Regions from separate parts of the Homo sapiens genome. Here all the other regions are linked to region 1. Evidence: promoter capture Hi-C in 16 types of primary human blood cells and fetal thymus (Javierre and others, 2016). All regions are on one chromosome and are shown on one strand. Each heading gives the region's core, a stretch centred on a gene start or on the middle of the fragment in contact. The rest is flanking DNA. Distances are from core to core; before and after follow the strand shown.

Evidence for each region. The method cuts DNA at HindIII sites, captures the fragments that hold promoters and counts their contacts. A CHiCAGO score of 5 or more calls a contact.
Region 2: the fragment with the promoter of SHC1 here is called in contact with the fragment with the promoter of TPM3 in region 1 in 2 of 17 cell types (M0 macrophages and erythroblasts); the score reaches 6.4 in M0 macrophages.
Region 3: the fragment with the promoter of S100A2 here is called in contact with the fragment with the promoter of TPM3 in region 1 in 2 of 17 cell types (naive B cells and erythroblasts); the score reaches 7.4 in naive B cells.

What each region holds. Positions count from the first base shown.
Region 1 is chr1:154,190,195-154,194,683 of GRCh38, reverse strand. TPM3 (tropomyosin 3) reads left to right here and starts at 2,584. Exons shown (of 10, transcript NM_152263.4): 1 at 2,584-2,782; 2 at 3,373-3,498. The coding sequence starts at 2,666. It overlaps MIR190B (microRNA 190b), which reads left to right and starts at 941; the gene lies at 941-1,019. The HindIII fragment of the contact is 3,875 bases long and covers 1-3,447 here.
Region 2 is chr1:154,968,060-154,972,548 of GRCh38, reverse strand. It overlaps SHC1 (SHC adaptor protein 1), which reads left to right and starts at 1,802. Exons shown (of 12, transcript NM_001130040.2): 1 at 1,802-2,517; 2 at 3,101-3,171; 3 at 3,715-3,778; 4 at 3,935-4,054; 5 at 4,292-4,345. The coding sequence starts at 2,023. RefSeq lists enhancers at 1,924-2,474, 2,475-3,025. The HindIII fragment of the contact is 11,130 bases long and covers 1-4,489 here.
Region 3 is chr1:153,563,447-153,567,935 of GRCh38, reverse strand. It overlaps S100A2 (S100 calcium binding protein A2), which reads left to right and starts at 2,092. Exons shown (of 3, transcript NM_005978.4): 1 at 2,092-2,430; 2 at 4,049-4,202. The coding sequence starts at 4,059. RefSeq lists enhancers at 931-1,170, 868-2,067, 2,041-2,100, 2,220-2,977, 2,978-3,735 and 1 more. The HindIII fragment of the contact is 6,475 bases long and covers 1-3,843 here.

The DNA of each region.
Region 1 (4,489 bases), core at 1,335-3,834:
CACATGACATTCAACAGACCTGATTCTCTCCAAAAGAGAAATTTCCCATGTGGGAATCCGGCTGGATCCCTGTGAGGGAAGACCCTTGGAGAACGCAGCCTGGAGTTCTGGTAAAAAGCCCTAGAAGAGGAGAGGACTCCTGTGGACTGCAGGCTGCTTCCTGGCAGAAGTTTCCTCTCTTACCCTCAGTCTAAAGCCTTAGTTTCAATTCTGCCAGGCAAGGTGGGGAACTATAAGTCTTCTCTTCTGGAGCCCACGATGGAGCCTGCCAGGGAGACAAGTTATTCTTCTGTTCTGGACATCCAAGGGTGACTTTAAGGAGGATGCCTGGAGGACATGGGGAGAAGGTGAGAAGGGTTAAGCTGGCAGAAAGGGGAAGCCAAGCATCTGCAGCACTTAAGAGCAGGACGGTGCCAGGATGGTGCCTCCTGAACGGACCTCAGTAGTCTTGTGGGGGTGATCTGGGAAGGTTAGGAGTTCTGTTGGAAAGGTAAAGCAGGGTGTACAAGTCCTCTGCCCCCACCCCGGAAAGCCTCAGGGCAGCTGGAATGGCATTGAAGAGAGCAGGTGGCAATTTTGATGAGGAGCTGCTGACACGGCTGATCCTCTGGGCGCTGGGGCCGTGACATCAGGGTGAGAAGCTCTGTGTGGGAGCTCTAGGGAACGATAGTTGCCCGGATGTGGAGCCCTGCCAGGTATTCTTCCTGGTTTAGGCCAACGTGATCCAGCAAAGGCCAGGAGCTTGTAGAGGAGGAGCTGAGGCAGGGATGACACGTAGGACAATAAGCAAGAGCTGGCTGTCTTGGGAGGTGAAGAGCAGGAGCCAGTACCCTTCCTCAAGGAGATGGCTCTCCACCTAGACATGATTGGTGCCTGGTGTCTGCTCTATTCTTTCTTTGCAACTGGAAGGAAGGCAGATGACCCCCAAAGCTCTCCTGCCTGCTTCTGTGTGATATGTTTGATATTGGGTTGTTTAATTAGGAACCAACTAAATGTCAAACATATTCTTACAGCAGCAGGTGATTCAGCACCACCCTCTTTCATACTTCAATCTCTGGGGCTCCTGTCTCTTTTACTGAACCTCTTCTCTCCAGGACCCCCCCAAAAGTCCAGTAGCTGCAACCTATGTGCATTTCAATCTTAACCTAAGAGGGCTGGTGTGGGAATGGGAGAGAGTTGGAATTTGAGGATAGAATCTTTCTATTTCTTGTCCCCTTATACTAGAAGGGACATTTCTTTGCCTTTTCTTGTCCTCGTATTTTTCTCCCCCTTATTCACTTGCCCACCCCCCCCCCATTTTCCACTCCTTCCTCTCCCTGTTCCCTAACCCCTTTCCCTGGCTAATCTCCAGAGAAAGGAGACTTGGTTTCTCCTCTCTCTGTCGAGAGTCAGCTGATGGTCTATCTGCCTATCTACCTCTAGTGACTGGAAGCTCTCAATAGTGGACTCCAGCTCTGCTCTACCCACTGGCCTGGTGGGTGTCTCCGTTCCCCCATTGCTGGGGCTTAGCATTAACTCTCAGTATCCTGACATAAATGACTAACTAGAGCCATTTATATTTGTCCAATATATCTGGTCACCTTGAACAGTGCCCACCTCTCCCTTGGCATATTTTCAGGTGTATGGTGCCAGTGGACTGGTATCCTTGCCACCTGTTAGTAACAAGGCTCCCAATGGAAGAATAAACATGGTCTGGAACTAAACTGGAAAGAATAGAGCTGATAATGATGATTACGATGATGTGGTGAGTGGCAGCGTTGGGGAGAATTAAGAAGGGAGAAGATAAAGGGAAGAAGAGGAGAGAGCCACACAGACCAAAGTCTGTGTGGGTACAACAGTTCTATTTTAAGATTACTGTGGGAAAACAAAGGGTATGATCCTGTCTGGATTGTTCTGACCCTCCCCTGTTTCTCTCCCCACCCCACTTGAAGCTCTGGGATAGCCTTCAAGGATAGGGTTGGAGATTCCAACCCTACCTCTTACTCTACTCTTGTGGCTCTTGGTGGGGAGGAAAAACGTCTCCCTGCCAATCGGAGACTCCCAGAATAGCACAGCAATTTGATCTGGGGATCTGGGAGAATTGTTAAGGATCATGAGTGACCTCCCCTCTTCCCTGTGCCCAAGCTCCTTGAATACCAGGAATCAAAAGCTAAAACTCAACTAACGGAGTTTGACCAGCATTCAACACAGTCTGGGGGAGAGTGAAACGGGAAGCTGAAAGGCAACCAGGACCCCCTGGATGCAAACTGCCAACCTAGAATTGCCAAAGTACACTTCTCTATTTCAATGTTCTTCCCTCCCCTCTTCCTCTTCTTTTAAAACATCCATAGAGCTGCCCAGAATGAGTGGAAAGTTTCAGGGTCAGGGAGAACCTCTTCCCTCCCCCACTTTCCATTGTCTAAAATCAGCCTCAGCTGTTGCTAGATATTTTTTTTGCTGGTGATGTCAGTTCATCAAAGCGTCTCACCCTGTGTTCCCCCAGGAGAACAATGATGGGGTGGAGGGAGCTGGAAAGACCATATTAGGAACAAAAGGTGGAGCTATGAGCACAGATAAAGACTCAAGTCTGGGGACCTCCTGGTCACTCAGGCAGCAGCCCCTTCTTTCTTGCCCCAGTCTCCAGTTCTCCAGTGTTCACAGGTGAGCCTACCAACAGCCACTGCTCATGATGGAGGCCATCAAGAAAAAGATGCAGATGCTGAAGTTAGACAAGGAGAATGCTCTGGATCGGGCAGAGCAAGCTGAAGCTGAGCAGAAGCAGGCAGAAGAAAGAAGTAAACAGGTAGGCACTGGCATTGATCTCTCTCATCTGCTAGTGAACAAGACTGTGAAATGGAAGGGAGTTTTCATGGGAAAGACAGTGACTACTGGTGTCACCTCCTTTTTGGGGGTGGGATGGACTCCCCAGCCTCACTGGAGGAGCAGAGGATATCTAACATATCTGTCTCAGACTGCCTTTGTGACCTTGGGAAAGTCAGTGAGCCACAGTATGTCTGCTGAATTTAAGTAGAAATGGACCATGTTTTGGAAGAACCCTTGACTTCTAGAGGAAAAGGTAAGAGTTCTAGAGGGAAAGAGCATCTCTTTTCACTCAAATAGCATCACGGGCATCTACACTTTAGATATTTATCATCCAGGGGTCTTGGATGAAAACCCAGGATGGCTTGGTCATCTTAGGATCAGAGATTACAGGGTCACAGGCCAAGCTACGGCATAACTCCTGAGGCAGTGGGCTGGAAGTGGCTGGGGAGAAAGTGTGTCTCACTAGGGATGGTAACATGGAGGTTACACTCAGGGCTCCAAGAGCCCAGGGTCCAACCCTGCATTGTTGTGTTTGTGTGTTTTTGTGTGTGACTCTCTGGGCTCCTATAGCTGGAGGATGAGCTGGCAGCCATGCAGAAGAAGCTGAAAGGGACAGAGGATGAGCTGGACAAGTATTCTGAAGCTTTGAAGGATGCCCAGGAGAAGCTGGAACTGGCAGAGAAGAAGGCTGCTGATGTGAGTATTAGAGAGATGGAGGATGGGTTTAATCTACACATATAGATCTTTATGTTAATGTATGACGAAATTCCAAACACACTTGTGGGTTCATGGAACACAGACATATATACTCACATACATTTTTGCATATAACCACATGCTGGTATATTCTCATAATGGCATGTATTTTCTTTCTTAAAGACATCTCCAACATGTTAAAAGTTTTTTTTTAATACATGTAAAGGTCTCATTTATCTCCTATCACCAACCCAGGAATTTAATTATCTTTCCCAGGACCTGGACAAAGAGAGGGGACTCTAAGTTCAGAATGCTGTCACTTATCCTACCTCCTCCCCCATGCCACATTCTTAGCTTTTATGTCCAAGTCTTGGCATGTGGATATGTGTATTAATAGGGAACCTCTCATCTCTCAACTGTCCAACAAAACCAGCTCGGATTTCACAATGGGAAATGGAGGTCACACTGACCCTGGCCATATATGGGTTTATTTATCTTGGCCAATGCAGGCATTTGCCTTTATGCCATGGAGATGCCATATGAAGCATTGCTCCTAGGGCAGCAGAGAGATCCCTACAGTGACAGAGTATAATAGAAACTAAGAAAGAATCTTAGGGGGTAAAGGTATCACCACCAGACTTCACTCTATGACCGTGAGTAATTACTCAGCTTGTCTAGGGCTGAATTTTCCCATTCTCAAATAAAATAAATTCTCTTTTCCATCTCATATTATCCCATCATCATCACCTACTTTCCTTCATCTTTAACCTTGAAGTTTGCTGCAAAGATAAATGAGAGAGTAGATTGAAAAGTTTTTTAGAAGAAAAGTACCATAGGAATCTTACCAACAACAACAGAAATGTCCCAGTATTGGTGGAAACAAGTTTCTCAGTGAACTGAGTTAATAGGAAAAAAGGAGCATGTAATATTTAAAATCATATTTGGGCTGGGTGCGGTGGCTCACGCCTGTAATCCCAGCACTTTGGAAGGC
Region 2 (4,489 bases), core at 553-3,052, 780 kb before region 1:
GTGTGTGTTTGTGTGTTTTGGGGGTGTGAGGCTATGGTGGAATCCTTTCCTCATTCTCTCTATGCCCGAGAGCTGGCTGGAAATGAAGTGATAAAATTCCTTCTCAGGATTGGCTGGCAGAGTGACAAAGCTCTTCTGGAATGAGCACTAAGGGGAGATGTAAGAGTTAAGCACAGCATCTAACACACTTCAAGTGTTAATGTTGTTAATCAGGATAATTATCTATCTATATTTTAATTCTCTGAAGTAAATCTAAGGGTAATTCCAAGGTGAGCTGGGGGGAATACGTATTTTTTTTTTTTTGAGACGGAGTTTTGCTCTTGTCACCTAGGCTGGAGTGCAATGGCTCGATCTCGGCTCACTGCAACCTCCGCCTCCTGGGTTCGAGCGATTCTCCTGCCTCAGCCTCCTGAGCTGGGATTACAGGTGCCCGCCACCACGCCCAGCTAATTTTTGTATTTTTAGTAGAGACAGGGTTTCACCATGTTGACCAGGCTGGTCTCGAACTCCTGACTTCAGGTGATCCACCCGCCTCAGCCTCCCAAAGTGCTGGTATCACAGGTGTGAGCCACCGCGCCCGGTAGGAATACGTATCTTTGTTTTTTTTTTTTTGGTCACTTTCCAGCTTTGCCTGTGGCATTCTCCGGAAGAGCAGTGGCAGGAAGCCGTGGGTGGCAGGAATGGGTTTGGGACTGTTCCCTGTGTCCAGCTTCAACCCATCTTCTCCTGACACCCCTTTCTCCTGTACTTATTTTTCTCCTGTCCTTATTGACGCAGATGTGTCTTCTGATCTCTCTGTCCCTTCCTGGCCTGTAGTTTCTACTTCTCTTGGAGAACTGTTTCTTCCACCTCCTCCAGCCAGGCTCCTTCCCTGGTGTGAAGGATGCTGTGCTCTTTGGTGGGGCTTAGGGCCCTGTAAGAGGAGGGATGTGAATTGGGGTGGTTTGGAGTGGGAGTGGGGACCTGATTGCCTCATTCTCACCCTTGACAGTGTGCTGTGTTAACAAGCCCTGTGGAAAGGGGAGACAGGACAGTGCTTGGCTATGAGCCATCGGTCTTGGTGTGGTAGATGGCATACGTAGAGAACAAGCCGTGACCAGCATGTCCTCTTGTTCCCTTCTTGCCTGGTAGCTTCCTGATGTATCATCCAGGTTGAACTTTATTCCCCTTTTTTCACCAGCTTTGCTCTTCCTCTTGGCCCTGCTCTGCATCCATTGGGACCACTTACTTCCCATCCCCACTTCGCTAGCTCCAGTCCACAGCTGCTGTAGCAGAGGATGCTAATGGCCCAGGCTTACTGTATGGGGTAGCGGTTGGGGGTGGCCTGGGCTGGGGCCAGCCAGCTTTCGGGCATAGAGAGGGTGGGGGAATTCGAGTGTCCAACCAGGACAGGAAGGGAAATGCTGAGCTCTGAGATCTCCTCCCTTTTCCACCCCCAGCTGCCTCTGTTTCCTCCCTCATTCCCCTGTACTCCTGCCTGGCTTCCTGCCCCCTTTGGCCTGCGTGTGTCCGGTTTTGAGTGACCCAGACCTCCTATCTCCTTCCTTTCCGTCCCACTCTTCCATCCTTCCCTCCCACCCCCACTTTACTTCTCCCCAGATTACTAGTTGTTTGTATAGGGCAGGGGAGAGGGGCTTGGATAGCCCTACCCCCTGCTCCAGTTCGAGGTTGGGGCGGGGTGGGGGCTCAGCCCCTCTGAGCCTGTGAGTCAGCACTGTCCTCACGATTGGTCTCTCCCCTTAGCTCCCCGCCCCTGGGGAGGAGCCAGAAGCGCTGGGTCCAGCCTGTTCTCTTCTCAGCCAGAGAAGAGGCTCCACGTTGGGCGGGGATGGGGCCTGAAACTGTCTGGGTCTGAGCTGGGGAGCGGAAGCCACTTGTCCCTCTCCCTCCCCAGGACTTCTGTGACTCCTGGGCCACAGAGGTCCAACCAGGCTAAGGGCCTGGGGATACCCCCTGCCTGGCCCCCTTGCCCAAACTGGCAGGGGGGCCAGGCTGGGCAGCAGCCCCTCTTTCACCTCAACTATGGATCTCCTGCCCCCCAAGCCCAAGTACAATCCACTCCGGAATGAGTCTCTGTCATCGCTGGAGGAAGGGGCTTCTGGGTCCACCCCCCCGGAGGAGCTGCCTTCCCCATCAGCTTCATCCCTGGGGCCCATCCTGCCTCCTCTGCCTGGGGACGATAGTCCCACTACCCTGTGCTCCTTCTTCCCCCGGATGAGCAACCTGAGGCTGGCCAACCCGGCTGGGGGGCGCCCAGGGTCTAAGGGGGAGCCAGGAAGGGCAGCTGATGATGGGGAGGGGATCGTAGGGGCAGCCATGCCAGACTCAGGCCCCCTACCCCTCCTCCAGGACATGAACAAGCTGAGTGGAGGCGGCGGGCGCAGGACTCGGGTGGAAGGGGGCCAGCTTGGGGGCGAGGAGTGGACCCGCCACGGGAGCTTTGTCAATAAGCCCACGCGGGGCTGGCTGCATCCCAACGACAAAGTCATGGGACCCGGGGTTTCCTACTTGGTTCGGGTGAGTGAACATCCTCCTCTCCATTCCCCCGCAGACCCCCTCCAGTTCTAATGCTCACTCCAGCTTGGCCGGAATCTCTTTTTTCCTGCTGTTCCCCAACAACCCCGTTTCAGTGTCCTATTTCCTAAACCTTTCTCATCCCTTCCCCGATTCTGTAGCCCCTTCCCTTCCAGCTTTGCCTGGGCCCCCTTCCTTCTTTTCACTCCCCCACCCCCACCCTGGCATGCTTAGCACAATGCCCAGCATGGCAGAAGCTCTTAATAAGTGTTGGAATGAATGACTTCTTGATCTTTCCTCCATTCTCCTCCCGCTTTCTGGAGTTGTCACTCCATCCCAGCCAATGCCTGTCGGTCCCCTCCAAACTCTCTCCCCAGTGTGTGAGGTCCTTCTAGCCTGCCTTTTCTTTTTCTCCTCATTCCCTGTTGTCTTTCACCTTGGTTGTGGGATGTAGCCACGGGAAGTGGGCAGAACTTCTTCCTCTTTACTTCCCTTAGGGACCATATGGGTAAAGTCCTAGGGCCCTTTGTGAAGGGGCTGGGGTGGGGGAGCCGCTGACCTGCTGTCCTCTTCTCCCTCCCCTTAGTACATGGGTTGTGTGGAGGTCCTCCAGTCAATGCGTGCCCTGGACTTCAACACCCGGACTCAGGTCACCAGGTTAGTGGGGAGGGAGTGGATTGTGGGAGTCCTGGGATTAGTGAGGCCATGGGAAACAGAGGAGGGGAGTGGGTCACTTGGGTGCTGCTGCTGGGGGCTGATCTTTGCGTAGTAAAGGGGATTGAGAGAAAGCTGAGGTAGTGATTCCGCCTCTTACTGAAAGGAGGCCCCTTTGGCCCGGATCCTCCTTACCTATCCAGCCTTGGGAGTTGTGGGGAAGGTGGCAGAAGCAGCTGGCAGGTGGAGCTGGAGTAGAAAAGGGGGGTAGATGGAAGGTTGCTGCTGCCTTTGGGAAGGGAATGGGACATTTGGTAGCTGGAAGGGGGTGGGGCTATACCCATTGAGGCCCTAACCCAATCAGCCAGGAAGTGGCCTCTCAGTGTCATCAAATATTAAAGGCCCTTAATTCAATCCACCATGACAAAGAGCCTGGAGTGCCCTGGGAGTCTGGCCTGGCTTTCCCCTCCCCCAGCCCTGTGGCAGCCCCAGTTGAGTGGGAGGCAGGCAGGCAGGCGCTGGGTCTGAGTACCCCTCTTTCCCCAGGGAGGCCATCAGTCTGGTGTGTGAGGCTGTGCCGGGTGCTAAGGGGGCGACAAGGAGGAGAAAGGTACTTGGGGTCCTTGGGGATAGGGATGCTGCTGGGAAATGTGGAGGGGCAGTGGGGAGGCAAGTGTGGGGCATGTGGGGAGAGGGCCAGGAGGCAAAAGTGTGGTTTGCCTGTGCTGGGAACCCTCACCTTCTGAGACCCTGGGCCCTACCTTAGCCCTGTAGCCGCCCGCTCAGCTCTATCCTGGGGAGGAGTAACCTGAAATTTGCTGGAATGCCAATCACTCTCACCGTCTCCACCAGCAGCCTCAACCTCATGGCCGCAGACTGCAAACAGGTTGGTGAAGGTGGGCAGACGGACCAGAAACACTGATGGGGGTGCTAAGGGGAGATCTAGTTAGGAGGCCAAAATCTAGGAAGAGGGCTTGAGAGCAGGAGACCAGTAGGGAAGGAGGAAATGAGGATATGGGATAAGGAACCCAGAGAATGAGACTGGGGCACCAGGGTTCTGGGCCCTGAGGCTGCCTGACACATGGCATTCCCTTCCTTCTTCATCCCCTGCCCTAATTCTCAGATCATCGCCAACCACCACATGCAATCTATCTCATTTGCATCCGGCGGGGATCCGGTGAGTTGGGGAACAGAGCAAAGGCGGTGGGAGAAGAGCAAGGGGCTAGGGATTGGGAAGACATTGATTAGAGAAGTGGGGGTGCTAGGATTGTGGGGATATCTGAAAAGGACTGGGTTTTAGGGGTCAGGAGTAAAGTAGAAC
Region 3 (4,489 bases), core at 843-3,342, 630 kb after region 1:
TGGTGTGGGCGAGACCCTTACCTCATGCAGAAATGAGTAAGACCGGTGAGCTCACCATGTGGGGGTGAGGCTGAGAGAAAACAAGTACACAGGTGATTCAGTCAAAATCAGAATTCTCTAAGTACACACGAAAAGGGCAAAAGGGGCGCTTTGTACAGGACAGAACAGGTAGACACTGAATCCGGTTGGGCCCTGGGAAGGCTCCCTGCAGTGGCCTTTGAAGGGGGGGTTGGATTTCAGCAGGATAGAGGGCATGGGCATGTGTGGGCACGTTCTGAACAGAGGGGTCAGCGCAAGCCGAGGGTCTTGGCCACACTAGTTGCATGTGCCGGTGTGTTTAAGGGACACGCAGCAGCAGGCCGAGTCTGGAGCGCCTCACTGCCAGGCTTTTTAAAAATTTTTAATTTTAATTTAATTTTATTTTATTTTTACTTTAAGTTCTGGCATACATGTGCAGAATGTGGTTTGTTACATAGGTATACATGTGCCATGGTGGTTTGCTGCACCTATCAACCCATCATCTAGGTTTTAAGCCCCGCATGCATCAGGTATTAGTCCTAATGCTCTCCCTCCCCTTGCCCCCATCCTTCTCCCCGCAACTGCCCACAGGCCCTGGTATGTGGTGTTCCCTTCCCTGTGTCCATATGTTCTCATTGTTCAACTCCCACTTATGAGTGAGAACATACCGCCTGGCTTTAAGGGACAGCCATGGGGATGCACTGCAGTTTCTGAGCAGGGAAGGCCCTGTGGAGGCCCTTAGTTAAAAGGAAAGAATGGCTGTGAAAATCGATGCATTGCGCTCCCTTGTCCCTCACCCTCAGTGTGAAGGGTTTTTATTCCGAGTTCTACTTGAAGTAGGCCTCGATGGGAAGACAAGTAGCATGAGGGGTTCAAGTACTGAGGGGAGCAAGGGACACTCGGTGGCTGTGCCAAGGTGTAGAAGAGGACACTGGGGGCCCCAAGGCCTGACTTCATGTACACTGCTCAGGCTGGCCCCCAAGTCACACGGTGACCGCTAGGAAGGGACCAGCCTGTTCTCAGTCTGATCCTCCTGCCATGTCATTATCCAAAGCTCCTCCTGGCAGGGCCTGTTTGGGGTCTCTGTGCCAGTGCTTTCCCTGCCAGGCTGGGCTGGGGCTTCCACCTACTGCTCTGGGACTGCTGCTGCCCTGGCCCTGGGGGAGGAGGGTGTGCCGCTGAGTCACTGCCTGGGCATCTGGGCCTGGAACCTCGGGTGAGTCACTTAGGGCTGAGGTAGAGGGGCTGGGGGAGGGGAAGAAGCTACTCGACAGCTGGAGCAGGGAGGGGAGCTGGGGCCACAGGAAGGGCGGTGCCCTGATGCCCAGACGGGCCGGGATAGACAAAGGGCCAAGGAGGAAGGGGCCCTGGGAGGGGGCAGCCCTCCCTTGGGCTGGGCTCTGAATGGCCACAGTGTTTGCCTTTCTCCGGGTCTGGGGAGGACATGTGTGTGGGGGGCAGTGAGAGAGGGCTGTGGCTGAGGGCTGTGCTTCAGGCCTGGATTCTGGCTTGGGAAGCTGTCCAGCTGGTGTTTTCAGCCTTGGGTAGGGATGTACCCCTACCCACCCACCCAGCCCTCAAGCTGGAGAAGAGGAGGCCAAAGTTTTCCTGTTCAGCCTTTAACTACTCGGGACTTCCTTATGCTCCCCACAGACTGTGGCCCAGCCCAACTGCGGCTGTGTGTAGAGCAACCCCATTTCTCACTGCTTCCCCATCCTTCCAGACACCTTCCTACACAGAGGGACCTTCCCAGGTATTTCTAAGCACACTTAGTTACCTCATTACCTCATTAAGAGGTATTCTGGTGCTGGCCATTAAAAGTCACTCCACTTCATCCATGCCCTGAAGTCAGTCCTGTCCTTCTCCTCCTGATGTCCCCCAGCTGCCTCCTCTGGCCCCCAGCTTCCTAAGGGTGGCCCCAGGTTGCTTCTCTCTCACACACACGGGCGCATGTATGTACACGAGCACTGGACCATGAAGTCTCAGCGTGTGCTCACAGCCTCTCACACAGGAGTGGGCTGTGACTCACAGGCATGTCATGAGAATGAGGCCTGGCACCAGTCTCCAGGCCCCAGAGCAGGGGTTGCCTCCCCTCACCCCGGTCCAGGATGCCCAGTCCCCACGACACCTCCCACTTCCCACTGTGGCCTGGGTGGGCTCAGGGGCTGCCCTTGACCTGGCCTAGAGCCCTCCCCCAGCTGGTGGTGGAGCTGGCACTCTCTGGGAGGGAGGGGGCTGGGAGGGAATGAGTGGGAATGGCAAGAGGCCAGGGTTTGGTGGGATCAGGTTGAGGCAGGTTTGGTTTCCTTAAAATGCCAAGTTGGGGGCCAGTGGGGCCCACATATAAATCCTCACCCTGGGAGCCTGGCTGCCTTGCTCTCCTTCCTGGGTCTGTCTCTGCCACCTGGTCTGGTGAGTACCTCTGTCCTGCTGAGGGCAGGGTGGGGAGGATCCCCGTGGGTCTCTGTCTTTGTCTCCACAGTTCTCTCATTCCAGCTTCCCTGGTGGGATCAACCTGGGCCTCTCTGGGCCTTCCCCCTTGGAAGAACTCTCTGTGAAGTGCTGAAGTGTTGACTGAAGGGTTTTTTTTTTTTTTTTTTTTTTTTGAGATGGAGTCTCGCTCTGTCGCCCAGGCTGGAGTACAGTGGTGTGATCTCAGCTCACTGCAAACTCCCCCTCCCAGGTTCACGCCATTCTCCTGCCTCAGCCTCCCGAGTAGCTGGGACTGCAGGCGCCCACCACCATGCCCGGCTAATTTTTTTGTATTTTTAGTAGAGATGGGGTTTCACCATGTTAGCCAGGATGGTCTCGATCTCCTGATCTCGTGATCCACCCATCTCGGCCTCCCAAAGTGCTGGGATTACAGGAGTAAGCCACCGCGCCCGGCCGACTGAAGGGTTTTTCTCCAGGTTCCTCTGTGAGGTCTCAGTGCAGGGGTTGCTCTGAGGCCCTCCCCTGGATATCTCAGTCTAGGGGCCCTTCTTTGGGGGTCTAGGCCTAGGAGCAGGAGGTGTGCATGTGGGCGTTGCTGCAAAAAGAATCCTGAGATTTTTTTTTTTTTTTGCAAAGTCCTGGATTCTAGCAGGACTAAGGTGCAAGAGGCAGGGGTCTCAAGACTCTGCCTGGGTCATGGCCCCAAGCAGCAAAGCTCTGCCCCCTGCCTCGGTGAAGGCAGGGCTGGCATGATGGGCCCAGGGCATGCCCTGCCTCTGGCATAGCTCCTCTGGCCTCACCCTGAAACCTGCCTAACCTTTCCAGGCTGGTCTGAGTATTCTCAGAGGCCTTGCCGCTGAGGTCTGTCCCATCCTGATCCCAAGGCAATGAACATTTCATATCTTTAATTCTAATTCCAACAGGATCCTTCCTGGTGGAGAGAATGTTAAGTTGCCCCCACCCTATCCATGCCCCTGTCTGCCTAGAGGCTCAGGGGCCTTCAGGGTGAGGGGAGACACATTCCCCACCCTCTGGGAGCTCCTAGTCTGAGAGAGGAAACACTCCTGCCCAAGGGAGCTTCCAGTTAGATGGCAGAGAGAGATGCCTCTGGCTTCAGGAGTCCCGAGTCTAAGGAGGGAAACGACTCCTTCAGGGAGCTTCCTGCTCCTAGGCTGTAGCCATGGCTCCTGCCAGACTGCACAGGAGCCCCCATCTGCCAGCCGGTGCATGTGGCCCTGCTCCCCAGAGCCTGCGCAGATGCCATCAAAATGGGACTCTGGTCACCCTGTCATTTCCCTTCTGGCAGACACTAAAATGGGGAGCCCTGCCCTCAGGGGGGTGTCCCAAGTGCCATCAGAGGAGGCTTGGTGACTCCCAGACACAAGGGAAGCTTTAGCGTCTGCCCTCAGGGTGAGATGGAGGTATCGCCTCCGGCCTCAGGGAACCACAGTCTGAGGGGGAGATGCAGCCCCTGCCTTCCCATTCAGAGAGGGGTTTTGTGAGGTGGCTTGGGGGCATAGGGCAGAAGTGGATCCTACAGGCTGAGCTAAGGCCCCAAGAGCCTCAGCAGTGTACCCATCACCTGGCACCTCTGCAGCCACAGATCCATGATGTGCAGTTCTCTGGAGCAGGCGCTGGCTGTGCTGGTCACTACCTTCCACAAGTACTCCTGCCAAGAGGGCGACAAGTTCAAGCTGAGTAAGGGGGAAATGAAGGAACTTCTGCACAAGGAGCTGCCCAGCTTTGTGGGGGTGAGTGGCACAGGCCTGTGGGGGAGGTCCTGGTGTGAGTGTGGGGGTGCAGGTTAAATCTCTCCCCCAGTTCCGGGTGCCTGTCGATGCAGGTGCCAGGGTGGGGCCCAGCCCCCTCCCCACTTTAGCTTCATGGCTCCACTGGAGTGGAAATGAGGCCCGAGTGGGAGTGCTTAATTAATGGCTGTTTCCTGCAGCATTCCAGAGAACCATGTGCTGTGAGGGCCTTCCGAGTCCATCTGTTTAATCCTGTCATTGGAGACTTGAGAAACCAGAGCCCAGAAGGG